5 separate regions of the Homo sapiens genome follow, and all the other regions are linked to region 5. Evidence: promoter capture Hi-C in 16 types of primary human blood cells and fetal thymus (Javierre and others, 2016). All regions are on one chromosome and are shown on one strand. Each heading gives the region's core, a stretch centred on a gene start or on the middle of the fragment in contact. The rest is flanking DNA. Distances are from core to core; before and after follow the strand shown. Region 1 overlaps KATNIP (katanin interacting protein). Region 2 overlaps SBK1 (SH3 domain binding kinase 1). Region 3 overlaps KATNIP (katanin interacting protein). Region 4 overlaps KATNIP (katanin interacting protein). Region 5 holds the start of GSG1L (GSG1 like).

Region 1 (2,700 bases), core at 170-2,669, 300 kb before region 5:
TCACTCTTGGAACTGTTGCCTTTCTTTGTTCATTATGTGCTTATTGACAGTCTTTGCTAGAATGCAAGCTTCTTGAGTTCAGAGATTGTGCTCTGTTGTTCATTCCTGCAGCTCTTATGCCAAAAATAGGTTCTGGTACACAGTAGATGACCAATAAATATTCGTTGACTGTTGACTGTGAAGTTGGTAAAACCCAATAGTTTTCGTTTGTCTCATTTACTTGCAGATATCTACTGAAGCCCTACTTGTTAATTAGTCATGTGTTTAAAATTTTTACTAAAAACATTCATTGAACATCTACTAAGCACTGTTCTGGGCTCCGGGGATACAGCAGTGAACAAAACCAGCAGAGTCCTGGCCTCAGGGAACTTCCGTCTTAGTGGGGGAGACTGATGGAGACAAATAAGCAAATCAATGTAGACTCGATTGTCAGGAAGCATTCAGTGCTATAAACAACAAGGCGAGCAGGGTAAGGATGTAGAGAGTGATGGGGTGAGCAGGGCTGTTTGAGCTCTGGTTATTAGGGAAGGCCTCTCAGGAAATGACATTGGAACACTGACTCATGCTGAGAAGGAATGTGTCAGCTAGCTTTTGCTGCCGAACAAGCCAATCCAAAATCCACTGGCTTAACACAACTACCATGAATTATATTCATGACTGACTGGTAATTCAGTATCTTGGCTGGGCAGCTCTGGGTGAGCCAGCTTGGTTGGCCTCTACTGGGCCTGCTCGAGTTCCTGATCAGCAGGGAGGTGGACCAGCAGCTGAATGACCTAGGACATCTTCACCCACCCGTCTGGCAGTGGGGAGGCTGCTGGCCAGAGAGACAGGTGTCTGGGTTAGCTGGGCTGCCTCGCATGGCAGTCTCAAGCCCCGAGTGCTTTACAGGCTCTGCTTGCCTCACGTGGGCTTCTGTCCCAGTGTTCAAAGCAAATCACGTGACCCAGAGTCAGGAGCAGAGAAGGAAACTCCAACTCTGGATGGGATGAGGGGCAAAATCACATTGCAACAGCAGGGACACGGGATGGGACGAGCTTGTAGCCACTTTGCACGTGAATGATGCGGCGAGAAGCCCATGTGCAGGGTGCCGTGCTGGCCACATGTTTTTTTCATCTGCCCCAGAGATGCTCAGAGTTACCTTGGCACCACGAAGGAGGAAAAGGATCTGAGGGCTAAGTTACAAAAAGTATGTTGGGAGATGTCAGGGGCGTGGGAGAGAAAACCAAGCTCCAGGGAGGTCAGGTGACCCAGCCCCTCTTCATGGCCACAAAGAAGTCCTTTCACCTCTCTGGGCTTCCAGTTCCTCATCTGAGCTGCAAGGGGGTGGTGCCAGATGACACCCTGCTTCCTTCTGCCTGCTCTGTGGTGCTGGCATTTCTGTGAACGCTGCAAAGAGTGAGTCTTACACTTAGCTACCCAAAAGGGTGCTAAAATATGCGGCAAATTCTCTAAGGGCAGAAGGGTTTATTGTGTTTGGTCTTGCTCTAATGAGACACCGTTAAGGAAAGAGACGTTCCAGCCAATTATCTGACAGGGCTTGATCAAGAGATTCATTCCATTTGAGTTTCCTGGGCAAATGAATGACATCTGGGCTGTTTTGCCCCAGGGCCACAGAAGGTCACTTCTAAATGGTCTCTGATCGAGAGAGGATGGGAGCAGAGGCAAAAGGATGGCGGTATCACCCTAGGTCACTTCCTTTACTCTGAGCCCACGTGAATGTTTGTGATAGCAGCCAATTTGCATAAAATGTCAGTTTCCAGCGCTGGGGCTTACTGATACAAGTCTCCATGTAGTTGCTGGTTTAATCATTCCATCTGTACTGAGCTCCTACTGTGTGCCAGGCACCATGCCAGGCTCAGGACACAGTGGTTTAGAGAAACAGATGGGGTTTCTCCCTCAAGGAGTTAGGCATCTGGCGGGGCAAGTGGGTATTTACCAAGATCACGCGATTACAGCAGTGACCAGGGCTTGGAAAGGGAAGTGTACAGTGGCATGGCAGGTTATCAATGGAGGTTTGACCTGGTCAAAGAACTCAGGAGGGCTTCTCTGAGGAAGGGAGCTGGGATCTGAAGGGTGCTCACAAGTCAACCAGGCCATGTGAATTCTAGGGAGGGGTGACAGCACATTCAAAGGCCCTGTGGTTGGAGAGAGAGGAATATAAATACGAGAAACTGAAAGACAGCCTGGGTGGGGCCTAGGGTCCCTGGTGCACAGTGAGGTCAGAGAAGTAGATAGAAGTCTGATGGGGAATGCGTTGTTGGCCAGAAAGCATGGGAAGCCACCAAGGATGTTCAGTGTCGGGTGGGACAGCACAATCTGGTAGGCGGAGGAAGGACTCAGGGCTATGTGCAGGTTTAACCCTCGCCCATGCAGCTTACCGTTGTTTCCTGAGCACTGACAGTGGCCTGGGCCCAAGGCCACCTAGAGGAAAGCCACAGAGCCCACCTGCAAGGCACTTTGGGTCTGGGTTGAAGTTGCTAGAATATAGAGGCCGAATAGCATTCCTCTTCCTGTCTTCATTTTAGATGCCTCCTCTGGAGCCTCTGGTGCTAATGGGCCACTTCTCTTCCTGTTGCAGGCCTTCAGCTGAATTTCACTGCCTCCTGGGGAGACTTGCACTACCTGGGGCTCACTGGCCTGGAAGTGGTGGGCAAGGAGGGCCAGGCGCTGCCCATCCACCTGCACCAGATCTCTGCTTCC
Region 2 (2,700 bases), core at 34-2,533, 260 kb after region 5:
GAAATCACAGCCCAGGAGGGAGGGTAGCTTGGCACTGGCTGAGAAATAGAGCTCTCTCCCCGCCCCTCCCCCTAACCACAAGGGATTGTCCTGACAACTTGTGGGGATAGAAGGGCTCACAGGGCAGGGGTCTCAGCTGCCCCCATCCTTAGGGCAGGGGAGTTAGTGTGGAGCCGAGAGCAGGTCCCAGCTCCCCCTGCCAGCCGCACTGTCCCAGGCCCAGGGACCTCTGCCGGGTCCTCCCAGCCCTTGCCACACAGCCTAGACGTAGTAGCCTGGGCTTCCAGCAGGTGGCGAGCTGGTTCGTGCTGGAAATTTCTCCTGGGTTTCTTGGGGTCAAACATGCCAACCTCCAAGACCCCATCCTCACGTCTCCCACTTTTCTGGCGCTGGAGTGTGCAGGGCGTAGGACCTGCATGTGTGGGTGTGAGAATGGGGGCGGTGGACACCAGGGGGCGAGTGTGTGACTAGGTGTGTGTGCACATGTGTAGGGTGCAGACGCATGGGTGCCATCCTTTGCGTTCAGTGACTGTGCGTCCAGACCCCTCACCAGCGGCCCCCCCACCACACCCTGGTCCTCCCAGGCAGCTGTCCCAGGGCGCCCAGGCCTGCCTTGCACCACAGCCCTCAGGAAATCCGGCAAGGAGGCCCCTGCAGGTTGGTTCAGGCCCCCAGGTAGCAAAACAGAGACAACAGCAGCCCCGCCTGACCCCCTGCCCCTCTCTGTGGAGGCCCGGGACCCCCGCAATAAGCACCACATGGGTGAGGCTGTCCCTGTCAGGGTCCCCTGCCAGGGTCCCTCCTGGGGTTCTGGGCCATTTGAGGGGCTCTTTGATGGGCCAGGCCGGCCAGAGTGAACTCCGAGCACTTTCTGGCTGGTGCCCCAACCTCTCCACTCCCCACTCATTCCCACCTTGAAAAAGGGCTATAGGTCCCCTGCCCTGCCCGGGTCCAGTTTACAAACAGTGTGGGGTGGCCCCAGGGCCTGGCCCCACTCTCCCTGCTGTGCCCACTCCTCTCCAGACTCCACCTCCCCAGTGGGTATGGGCCCTCCACATGCCAGGTAAGTAGCAAACCCCCACTCCCTCCAAGGACCAGGTCTCAGAGAAGGCCCTGGTCACTGCCCCCGGCCCACCTGGAGCCCATCGGGGCTGCCTCTCCCAGCCGCGACTTCTCCTTTTGCCTTAGGCCTCGCGACATCCTGATCTCTCCTGCAATAACTAGGAATCGAGATTCCACAGTAGACGTCCCTTGCCGTGCTCGCTCTCTCTCTCGCGCGCGCTCTCTCTCTCCCTCTCTCTCTCTCTCTCTCTCTCTCTCTCTCTCTCTCTCTCTCTCTCTCCTCTCTTTCTCTCTCTCCCTCTCTCTGTTAAGATCCTGTTCGGGAGTTTCCCCAGCCGTTGTAGTATCTAGTATGTTAGAGTTGGGAGGGGACCATAGTTATGTAGCCCAGCCCCCTCATTCCCAGAGGCACCCAGAGGGCCAGCCTCCAGCCTGACCCCAGAGCAGAACCGGAACACCAGGTTGGGGCCCTGGTGCTGCCACCTCCTCTGCTGGTCGGGCTGGGACCCTTTGCCCCTTAGGAGAGGTGTTGGTCACAGATGTTTACCTCAGTTTATGTCACTGTCGAAGAAACAAAAAATAATAGCAAAAAATAACACTGTAGACATGAAGACTTAGAAGACAAAAAAAAAAAAATCACACAAAAAATCTCCCTTGTTGCGATTCTTCTGTGAAGGTACAGTGTGTATGTGTGTATGTGTGTATGTGTGTGCGTGTCTCTGTCCCAGACCCTGTGTCCCCCACACTGCCCCCTGTCCTTCGGTGCTTCCCAGAGACCCCTCTGAGCTGGCCTGTGGGGCACGGGAAGCCCCCTGGATGGGAGGCGGGGCCACAGGTCGGCTAGAGGGTCTCCACCAGGCCCACTGAACAGAACCCCACGGCTGCCAGAATGTTCCCTGAGCCCACACTGTGGCCAGTGGGACAGTCCTGGTGGCTGACATCAGCGTCCATGCTTGGCTCAGGGCCTGGGGCGGGGTCCTGGGTAGAGTCCTAGCCCCAGAGCCCCAGCCCCTCATGTCTTGCCGCCCTTCCTCCATGTGTTTGTAAATACTCTGGCATCCTTTGGCCCTGAGAAGGTTTTTAAATGTGTTATTTACTTCTCTAAACATGACGATTGCTATAAAAATAAACAAAAGTTTAGAAAAATGACCACTGGGTGGCTGTCTTTTCTCAAGTTTGGGGTGGAGAGGGCGGTGGGGGTGGGGGCACACAGGTACTCTAGAAACTGAAAACTTGGGCTGGGCGGAGCGGCTCACATCTATAATCCCAGCACTTTGGGAGGCCGAGGCGGGCGGATCACCTGAGGTCAGGAGTTCAAGACTAGCCTGGCCAACATGGTGAAACCCCCATCTCTACTAAAAATATAAAATTAGCTGGGCGCGATGGCGCACGCCTGTACTCCCAGCTACTTGGGAGGCTGAGGCAGAAGAATCGCTTGAACCCGGTAGGTGGAGGTTGTAGTGAGCTGAGATCGCGCCATTGTACTCCAGCCTGGACAACAAGAGCAAAGTTCCATCTCAAAAAAAAAAAGAAAACTTGACCTTGACATAGGCTCTAGGCCTCCTGTGACCTCTCAGAACTTGAGCATGAGGGGAACAGGACCCAGATTCTGGGACAAGGGGTAGGCAGTTGTCCCTT
Region 3 (2,753 bases), core at 32-2,531, 330 kb before region 5:
AGCCTGGACAACATAGTGAGACCCCGTCTCTACAAAAAAAAATTTATTTTAATTAGCTGGTCGTGGTGACGTGTACCTGTAGTCCCAGCTATCCAGGATGCTGAGATGGGAGGGTCACTTGAGCCCAGAAATTCAGGTTGCAGTGAACCCTGATCGAGCCACTGTAACGCCAGCCTGGGCAACAGAGCAAGACCTTGTCTCTTAAAAAAAAAAGAGAGCATTCTGTTTTGGGCATTTTATATTGGAATTCCTGTTAGATATCCAGGAAGAGAGGCCAAGCAGTCACTTGGGGCTTGGTGGAGAGGTCAGGGTTGGAGATGAAAATAACTGGGAGCCTGGGACCTGAATGAGACCACCTGGAGAGCAAGGGAAGAGCACTCGGGAGGCCTAGGACTGAGCCCTGGGCAGCCTAGTCGTTCAAAGTGCAGCCGAAGAAAAGGAAGCAACCCAGGAGTCGGGCAGGCTCAGCCAGCGAGGCAGGAGGAAAGCCAGGTGGGTGCAGAGCCACACAAGCCCCAGGGAGGAAAGTCATCGCAAAGGAGGGGAAGCTGCCGAGTACTGCCGAGCCGCCACACCCACCCACTCCTAGGAGAAATTCCTATTGCGTATGGCAGTCAGCTGGACCCTGTAATTTACTTTAGGAACCAGACACTTCTGAGAGTCATTAGTAATGACACCAGGATAACAGATATAAATCAGAATTGTCCCAGACAAACTAGGATGGCCCGTCACCCTAGTTACAGGTGCCCGGGCCAGGTGGGTTCCATGTGGAGGTGGAGGCAGAAGCCCAACGGGAGGAGGAACAAGGGGTAGTGGGAGGAGGAGCCCACGGGGACAGTGACACTCAGAGATTCACTGACGGGGTGACGGACAGATCATGCGGGGGGCCCTGCAATGGAATATTCCTTAGCAGTAGAAAGGAAAGGAACTATCAGTTCCCATAACACAGGTGAATCTCAGAGCAGTTATGGTGACTGAAAGAGCCGAGCAAAAAAGACTACATGCAACATGATTCCTTTATGTAAACATTCCAGAAAGGACGATCAGTATATAGGGAGGGACCATAAGTGGGTGGTTGCCTGGAGCCAGGGAAGGAGGAAGGGGAGACAGGGGTTACCAAGGGGCACGAGGAAACCTTAGGGTGATAGGTACGTTTGTTCTCTTGAGTGTGATGGCTTCATTGGCGTAGACACATGTTAAAACTGATCAAGCTGTACCCGTTAAATATGCACAGTTTATTGTATGGGGTGTGTATTCTATTCCCCGATAAAGCTGGAAAAAGAGTTTTGCTGTAAAGAGGATGACACAAGTGAAACAGTAGCAGGAGATGTGATTTTATCTTAAGCATGGAAGGAAGAGAGTTGAACCTGCGTGACATAGGGGCATTTAGGCTGGCAGTGAGAGAGGAGAGCGAGGTGGGGACCATTTGTGAAGGTTACTGTATGTCATGTGGAGAGCTTTGGAATTTATCCCATCATCGGCATGGTTCTGCACCCCGTCGTGTGAAGAAATCATCCGGAGAACTTGTTCTGAGTCCAGAAGTTACCTACAGGCTGCCTTGAGGCAGTGGTCCTCACACGGCATCCTCCTGGCTCCCTTCCAACTGCAGCTGCCGTGAACATGGGACAGTCCCCGCATGTGGACAGTGCCCTGCCTCAGGTGCTCGTGGGGTGCTCTGCCGTGGGAGCACACTCAGCTCGTGCATGTGTTGGGGCATCAGTGCCCTGAGGGCAGCCTTCAACAAGCAGTGGATAAATGTCCCAGTCTTGGAGAGACATTTGCGACATGCATTTAAGCAGAAGACTCCCATGATCTGATTTCAGTTAAAAAAAAAAAAACTCACTGCTGCATAGAAAATGAAGTGTGAGTGCAGGGATTTGGAGGAGACAACGCAGAGTGGAAGCAGAGAGACCAATTAGGAGGCGGCAGTGGTGTCTCTGGTAGAGACCCTGGTGGCCTGGGCAAGGAAGGCAGCAGCACATTCCAGGTAAAGAGGTCAGACCCAGGAAGTGTTCTGGAGAGAGAGGCGAGGGACAGCTGGCGGATTGGATGGGCAAGTGAGAAAGAGAGGGATCAAGGGGGCCACGAGGTTTTTGGCCACTGCTTCAATGATGGAGCCATTTTTAAGATAGGTGAAGACTAGGGTTGGGGAAAGTGAGATCTTGGAGTGCCGCAGAGGGCCCCCGTGGGAAGGAGCACCAGTTGGCCACAGCAGTGACCAGCTCAAAAAAACTGGGTTTTTCCTTTTTCCTGCCCTATCTTGCTTTCCCCATTTCCTCTTGGAATCACCTGCCAAATACTCGACTTGCACCCGAGTCCTTGTCTCAGCCTCTGCTTTTACGGTCTCCCAATTATGATGCCCACGGAGGCCAGGAAAGCTGTTTTATAAGCACTCCAGGCTTTTCGACGCAGATGGTCTCAGGAACTGGACTTTAAAGAACACTGCTATAGGCTGTGAAAAAACATGAAGGATTTCACACAGGGGAATGACTGGACAGATTTGCTCTGGTAGGAAATGAACTCTGGTGGCAATGTGAAGTCCAAGTTAAAGTAGCAAGAGACAGGAAGCAGGGAGACCCATTAGTAGGCTATTACGAATGTCCCGACAGGAGGTAATGATGACGAAGGCAGCGATTGAGGCCGTCTCTTTGTGAAAGTCCTTTGATTTATAGAGTATGTAGCGGTTCCCACAGAAATGAGACCAAGCCTAGTTTCACACCCCCAGCACTGTGGTTTTCAAAAGCTTGCATTTC
Region 4 (2,700 bases), core at 195-2,694, 460 kb before region 5:
CCGAACCCGTACACCAGAAACTGCTCCTCTGGATGCTTCGAAGATTCCTCAAGGCAAGGCAATGACCTTGCAAGGGCAGTCAACACACGGGCAATGACCTTGAGAAGCAGCCAGAAGAGCTGAGTGGCTATTGAGATGGGGGTGGGGAAGGTGGGAATGAGGTCAGGAGAGTGGTGAGAGCAGATTGCATTCATGCGCCAGGCCACACTCAGACCTGCTCTCCCTCCAGCCTTTGCTCCATGAATGGTGCCCCGTCCCTCCAATGATGCAGGCCAGAAACCCTGGAATCATCCTTATAGACCCTCTCCCTTGTCTCTTCTTTCCAGCCTGTCACCAAGTCCTGTGCCTTCACCTTGGAAGCCTCTCTTCCCTGACCCTCCACGTGGCTGAGTCCTCTCATCTAAGCACCTGCGGTAGCCTCTCACCTGCAGCCTGGCACCCATTCTCCACCACCCAACCCCTTTCTTACTCCAACTTCCGCTGTCCGCTCCAGGAGCACCATGTGGCTTCCCAGTGGTCTGGAGTCTCAGGGCAGAACTCCTGCCGTGGGCACGCGGTGTTTGTGGTCCATCCGCCTCAGTCCCGTGTCAGTCTCTGTCCCACGTGCCTGCCTTGTCCCTTCTGCTCTGTGCTCATGTGCGTCTGCTGCCTTAGCACGCCTCCACTTTGCTTTGAGCACTCTCCCCTCTCCTCCACAATTAACCCATTCATCCTTCAGGTTTTGGTTCTGTTATCCTCTGCAGCGAAGCTTCACCTGCCCCCTTTTAAAGCCACTCATCGCCCCCGCCTCCCCCACCTTCCGAGCACTGACGTCATACATTTGGTAGGTCATTTGATTAAAATCTGTCTTCCTCACTAGACCACCAGCTCCATGAGGCTGGGGACATGCCCTGGCATGGATTAGGAGGTGTTTAGTAAATCTGGAAGAAGGTAGGAAAGAAGTGGGGTGAGGAGGGAGGAGGGAAAGGAACGCAGTCCCACATGGTCGGGGAGGGGACCAGGGTCAGAGAGAATGAGCATTTGCTGTCGCCTTTAAATTCCTAGATGAACATTGTCTCACATGGCAAAATCTTGACTGCAGTATGTGAGAGTTAATCCAGTTTGAGGCCCATGAACCCCACTGCACTGCCCTACACTTGAGAATGATATTTCAGCACCTGCCGTTAGCACAAACAGGCTTTGCCCTTAAGCATACCTGGGATGTCAGAAGCAAAGACTCTCTAGCCGTCCCCTGGGATCAGCCAGCAGGCTTTGATCACTCTCCACCCCAGCCCAAGACAGGCTCCTGGAGTCTCCTGGCATCTGCTTTTACAAACACTCTTCCCTTCTGGCCCCTGCTCCGCCCTCCCCCATTCTCCTGGTGAGCTCTTTTACAATTCGGTGTCTTGTTTTCTCTTCTGCAAAGCCCACCCAGCCCCGCCAGTAATCCCAGGCCCCCTCCACTCCACCCACTGCCCTTGTGGCACAGCTGCCTCCTCTTTTTTTTTTTTTTTAGACGGAGTTTTAATCTTGTTTCCCAGGCAGGAGTGCAGTGGCGCAATCTCGGCTTACCACAACCTCCGCCTCCCAGATTCAAGCGATTCTCCTGCCTCAGCCTCCCGAGTACCTGGGATTACAGGCACACACCACCACGCCCAGCTAATTTTTTGTATTTTTTTAGTAGAGACAGGGTTTCACCATGTTGGCCAGGCTGGTCTCAAACTCCTGACCTCAGGTGATCCACCCGCCTCAGCCTCCCAAAGTGCTGGGATTACAGAAGTGAGCCACTGCACCCAACCTCAGTTGCCTCCTCTTGATAGCATCTGCCACACTGCACTGGAGCAATTGTTCCATTTCTATCTCTCTACTCCAAGTTCCTTGAGGCCAGGGATTTTTGTCTTCCTCCCTTTCCTTCTGTTCCTCCGTGTTCTTTCCTTTCTGCAAATCCTTTATAAGCTCCTTGTACATGCCAGGAACTGGGAGACACAGCAGTGAGCAAGCTCGCATTGTCCCTGCTCTCGTGGGTCTGGCGTCCTGATGGGGGAGGCCATGTGTAAATGAACAGAGATACTTTCAGAGAGTGAGAGGTGCTACTGGGTGAGGAGGCAGACAGGGACAGAGGTTGTTGGGAGAGGCCCCTGGAAGAGGGGATGCTGCTAAACAAGCTTACCCTAGAGCAAGGAGGGAAACATTGCAGGCAGGGGGAACAACAGAGGCAATGACCTTTATTTATTTACTTATTATAGAGACGGGGCAGGGGGAGTGGGGCGGGTGCTCTCGAGGTATTTCCCAGGCTGACCTCGAACTCCTGAGCTCGAGTGATCCTCCTGCTTTGGCCTCCCAAAGTTCTGGGATTACAAGCATGAGCCACTGCGCCCGGCCGGCAATGACCTTGAGAAAGAGCCAGAAGGACCATGTGGCTATTAGGATGAAGGTGGAAATGAGGTCAAGGAGGGTGGCGAGGCCAGATTACACTTGTCTGTCTATCTCTGGCCCTTGCCCGATGCCCAACCCATAGGAGAAGCACAAGGAATATGTGTAGGATCAATAGGAAGGGAGTGCCCTCCCCTCTTCAGGGGGCCGGCAGCAGCCCTGGGGTGTGGGGGAATGATCATCTACTCAGACAGCCCTGCCTGCTGGGCTGGTGGTGATAGATGCCCTGTGTTGGGAGGTCCATTTCATTAGAAGGAAAAGTTCTTGGATGGAAATCAGGTGGATGGA
Region 5 (2,700 bases), core at 124-2,623:
ACCGAACCTAATAGGAGCCTTGTGCTAAGCTAAGCCCTCCTGGACTCCTCGACCCGGAGTTTGCCCAGCTGTCCCCAGTTCCCTAGCCTGCCTCTCCCAGGAGGGGGCCAGGATACAGAGGGCTCCCTGGCGTCTGGCAATAGGGGTGCCTCTGGGCGGGTGCGGCTTTCCGGGAGCCCGCGGGACTCCCCCACTCCCCACTCCCGTCTGGGAGGTTCGGCGTGGGTTGGCGATGGGGGTGGAAGGCTCCCGGGTCTGTGGATCTGCGGCAGGAGGGGCGGCTGGTAGCAGGAGTCCCTGCATCACCCCCACCCCCAGGGGCGTTCCGGGGTGGGTGGGGGCATCTAGTGCCCCGCGAAAGGAAGAGGAGGAGGGGGCGAGCGTGGAGATGAGTTCAGGAGCGGAAAGCAGCGCGCGCCCCTCCGACCGGCAGCGGGGGTGGGCGCCTTCCCGGGGCGCGGGAGCGTCCCCAAAGCCGCGGGGCGTCCGCAGCGGGTAGGAGCTCTGCCTTGCACCTCTCCACGGCGGGGCGTCCCGCACGTCCCCCCATGCTGGTCCCCGGCCCCGGAACGGCGCGCGCCCCCTGCCCCGGAACGTCGCCCCTAGCCAGGCGGAGCGCTGGGAGCTGGGCCCAGGCGGCGGGAGGAGGGCGAACGGGTCCGGGGCTCGGGCCTCGATGGCCGCGCCGCCCCGGGGGAGCCGGAGCCGAGCTGGCCGCCGCCCGCGCGCACTCACCAAGCCCGCTGAGCTCCTCCTCGCACGAGTACCAGATGCCGGTGTGGAAATTCCTGAAGAGGAAGCGGTCGTCGCCGGTCTCCCAGCTGTAGAGCGCGCCGCCAGGGGGGCCGTTCCCCGAGGCGGTGGCGGCGGCGGCGGCGGCGGCGGGGGCGGCGGTGCCGTTGGCCGTGGCGTTGGCGCCCGAGTTGGGGCAGTTGGCGCGCCCGCCCTGGCCGCAGCCCGGCTTGGGGACCCGCTGCGTGCCCTGGCACCAGTGCGTGGTGAGGAAAGCGGTGGTGGCGAACAGCAGCGCCAGCAGGTTCAGGGCCACGGCCAGGAGCGCTCGGCCGCGGCGGCTAGTCTTCATGCCGCCCGCGCCGCCGGGACGGGACTGCACCGCCGGGGAGCTCCGCGCGCGAAGTTGGCAGCTGGCGCCCCGCGTCAGCGGCCGCTGCCCGCCGCGCCCCGGGGCTCGGGTGCCTGAGATCGGCGGCGGCGGACGCGGCGCGGGCCCATGCCCCCCCCAACCCCGGGGTGGGGGCGCGGCGCGGGGGGCGTGCGGGGCGGGCTGGCGGGGCGGGCGGCGGTGGAGGAGCGGCTACGGCGCGCCCGGAGCCCGGAGCGCGAGTGCACCTCGGCTAGGAGCCGCTGGCGCCTGGCAGCGGCCACGGCGCAGGGACGCGCGCCCCTCCGTGGGGAGACACCTGCAGGCGGCCGGCGACACTGTTCCGGAGCCCGCCCGCACGGGGAGAGGGGGCCGCCACGCCGGGCGCGGGCGGGGGCCTGGGAGTGGAGGGACGCCCCCGAAAGAAATCCGAGCCAGGGTGAGGGTCTGAGACGCAAGGAGAATCCCAGGCAAGGCGCTCCTGAGAAAAGATCCCCACGGCGGACGTGGGGCAACAAAACCCGCCGGGAGCGGGCATCTCATGAGACCCAGAGAGGCCCTGCCCCAGGAGACAAGGGCAGAGCCTGCTGGGGCTCCCCAAGAGGGACACGGACCAGCAGGACCCTGTCCCAGAAGGGGATCCCCAAAAGGACCCCCGCACCAGACCCTGAGAAAGGAGTTTTTCCAAAGGTTCTAAACAGCAGAGCCTGCAGGGCTTCCCACAGCCAGGGAGCTGCAAGACCCCCTGGATAAGACAACCCATGCTGGACTTGGAGTGGCAGAATCTGTCAGGAGGCGCCCCTCCTGGAGTATTGGGTTATAGGGTTTGAAACGTTTTTCTGTCTCCTGGGTGTCACCTCCAGCATCTGGGAAGAGCTCCCCTCCAAGGATGAAACTGTCATCTGGGCTCCCAACCATGGCATGCAACTGCAGGAAGAGTGGCAACAGGGTACCCCAGACAGCCCACTGCACCCACCTGAGATCCCAAACAGCAGAACCCTAGGAGGGCCCATGCCGGCCACAAAGTTATTGCAGCTACCAGGCAGTGGTGCCCTACAGGGGCTGCCAACCCTGCTCACATGCACACCATGTGAATGTGGGTAGAATCTTCAAGATTCGGGTGGGGGCAGGGTGGCCAAACATACTGACTTTGGGATCAAGCATATCTAGGGCTTGACCAGCTGTGTGGCTTTGAACAGGTCACTTACCCTCTCTGAGCCTCAATTTCCATAACTATAAAAAAGGGAGGACCCCCCCCCCTTCAAGGTATATCACAGTGGGCTGCTGTAATGAGATCATGGCTGCAAAAAGCATTTGGCACACAGTAGACTCAATTAATAATTCACTGTTACTGACATCTGAACCAAGATCAGTTGACCAAACTCAGACAAACCTCTTCAGGCTCTCCTGTGCAACGTGGAAACTGTGTGCAACCCCGTCCCCACCTCTGCTCTAAGATGACCACGCTCCCTGAACTCCCTTCGCGCTGCACAGCACTTACTGCCCAGATGCTCAGGGCGTGCAACAATTAATTGCATGTTGATTATAAGAGCTCATTTGAATTCTGCCCAAGCTGAGAACTGCTCCGACAACCCCCG

Evidence for each region. The method cuts DNA at HindIII sites, captures the fragments that hold promoters and counts their contacts. A CHiCAGO score of 5 or more calls a contact.
Region 1: a contact is called between a fragment that was not itself captured here and the fragment with the promoter of GSG1L in region 5, in 2 of 17 cell types (megakaryocytes and endothelial precursors). The highest score is 6.2, in megakaryocytes.
Region 2: a fragment that was not itself captured here is called in contact with the fragment with the promoter of GSG1L in region 5 in 1 of 17 cell types (neutrophils); the score reaches 5.2 in neutrophils.
Region 3: a contact is called between a fragment that was not itself captured here and the fragment with the promoter of GSG1L in region 5, in 1 of 17 cell types (megakaryocytes). The highest score is 5.3, in megakaryocytes.
Region 4: a contact is called between a fragment that was not itself captured here and the fragment with the promoter of GSG1L in region 5, in 7 of 17 cell types (M1 macrophages, M0 macrophages, megakaryocytes and 4 more). The highest score is 19.0, in M1 macrophages.

What each region holds. Positions count from the first base shown.
Region 1 is chr16:27,758,835-27,761,534 of GRCh38, forward strand. It overlaps KATNIP (katanin interacting protein), which reads left to right. Exons shown (of 28, transcript NM_015202.5): 19 at 2,579-2,700. Among named protein-coding and RNA genes, the nearest start is that of KATNIP, 210 kb to the left of the region's middle. RefSeq lists an enhancer at 1,172-1,231. The HindIII fragment of the contact is 2,706 bases long and covers 67-2,700 here.
Region 2 is chr16:28,321,639-28,324,338 of GRCh38, forward strand. SBK1 (SH3 domain binding kinase 1) reads left to right here. Exons shown (of 4, transcript NM_001024401.3): 4 at 1-2,211. Among named protein-coding and RNA genes, the nearest start is that of SBK1, 30 kb to the left of the region's middle. The HindIII fragment of the contact is 8,524 bases long and covers 1-2,700 here.
Region 3 is chr16:27,737,182-27,739,934 of GRCh38, forward strand. The region is part of intron 14 of KATNIP (katanin interacting protein); the gene reads left to right. Among named protein-coding and RNA genes, the nearest start is that of KATNIP, 190 kb to the left of the region's middle. The HindIII fragment of the contact is 2,920 bases long and covers 1-2,741 here.
Region 4 is chr16:27,599,255-27,601,954 of GRCh38, forward strand. The region is part of intron 2 of KATNIP (katanin interacting protein); the gene reads left to right. Among named protein-coding and RNA genes, the nearest start is that of KATNIP, 50 kb to the left of the region's middle. The HindIII fragment of the contact is 1,396 bases long and covers 747-2,142 here.
Region 5 is chr16:28,062,341-28,065,040 of GRCh38, forward strand. GSG1L (GSG1 like) reads right to left here and starts at 1,374. Exons shown (of 7, transcript NM_001109763.2): 1 at 736-1,374. The coding sequence starts at 1,084. The HindIII fragment of the contact is 8,058 bases long and covers 1-2,700 here.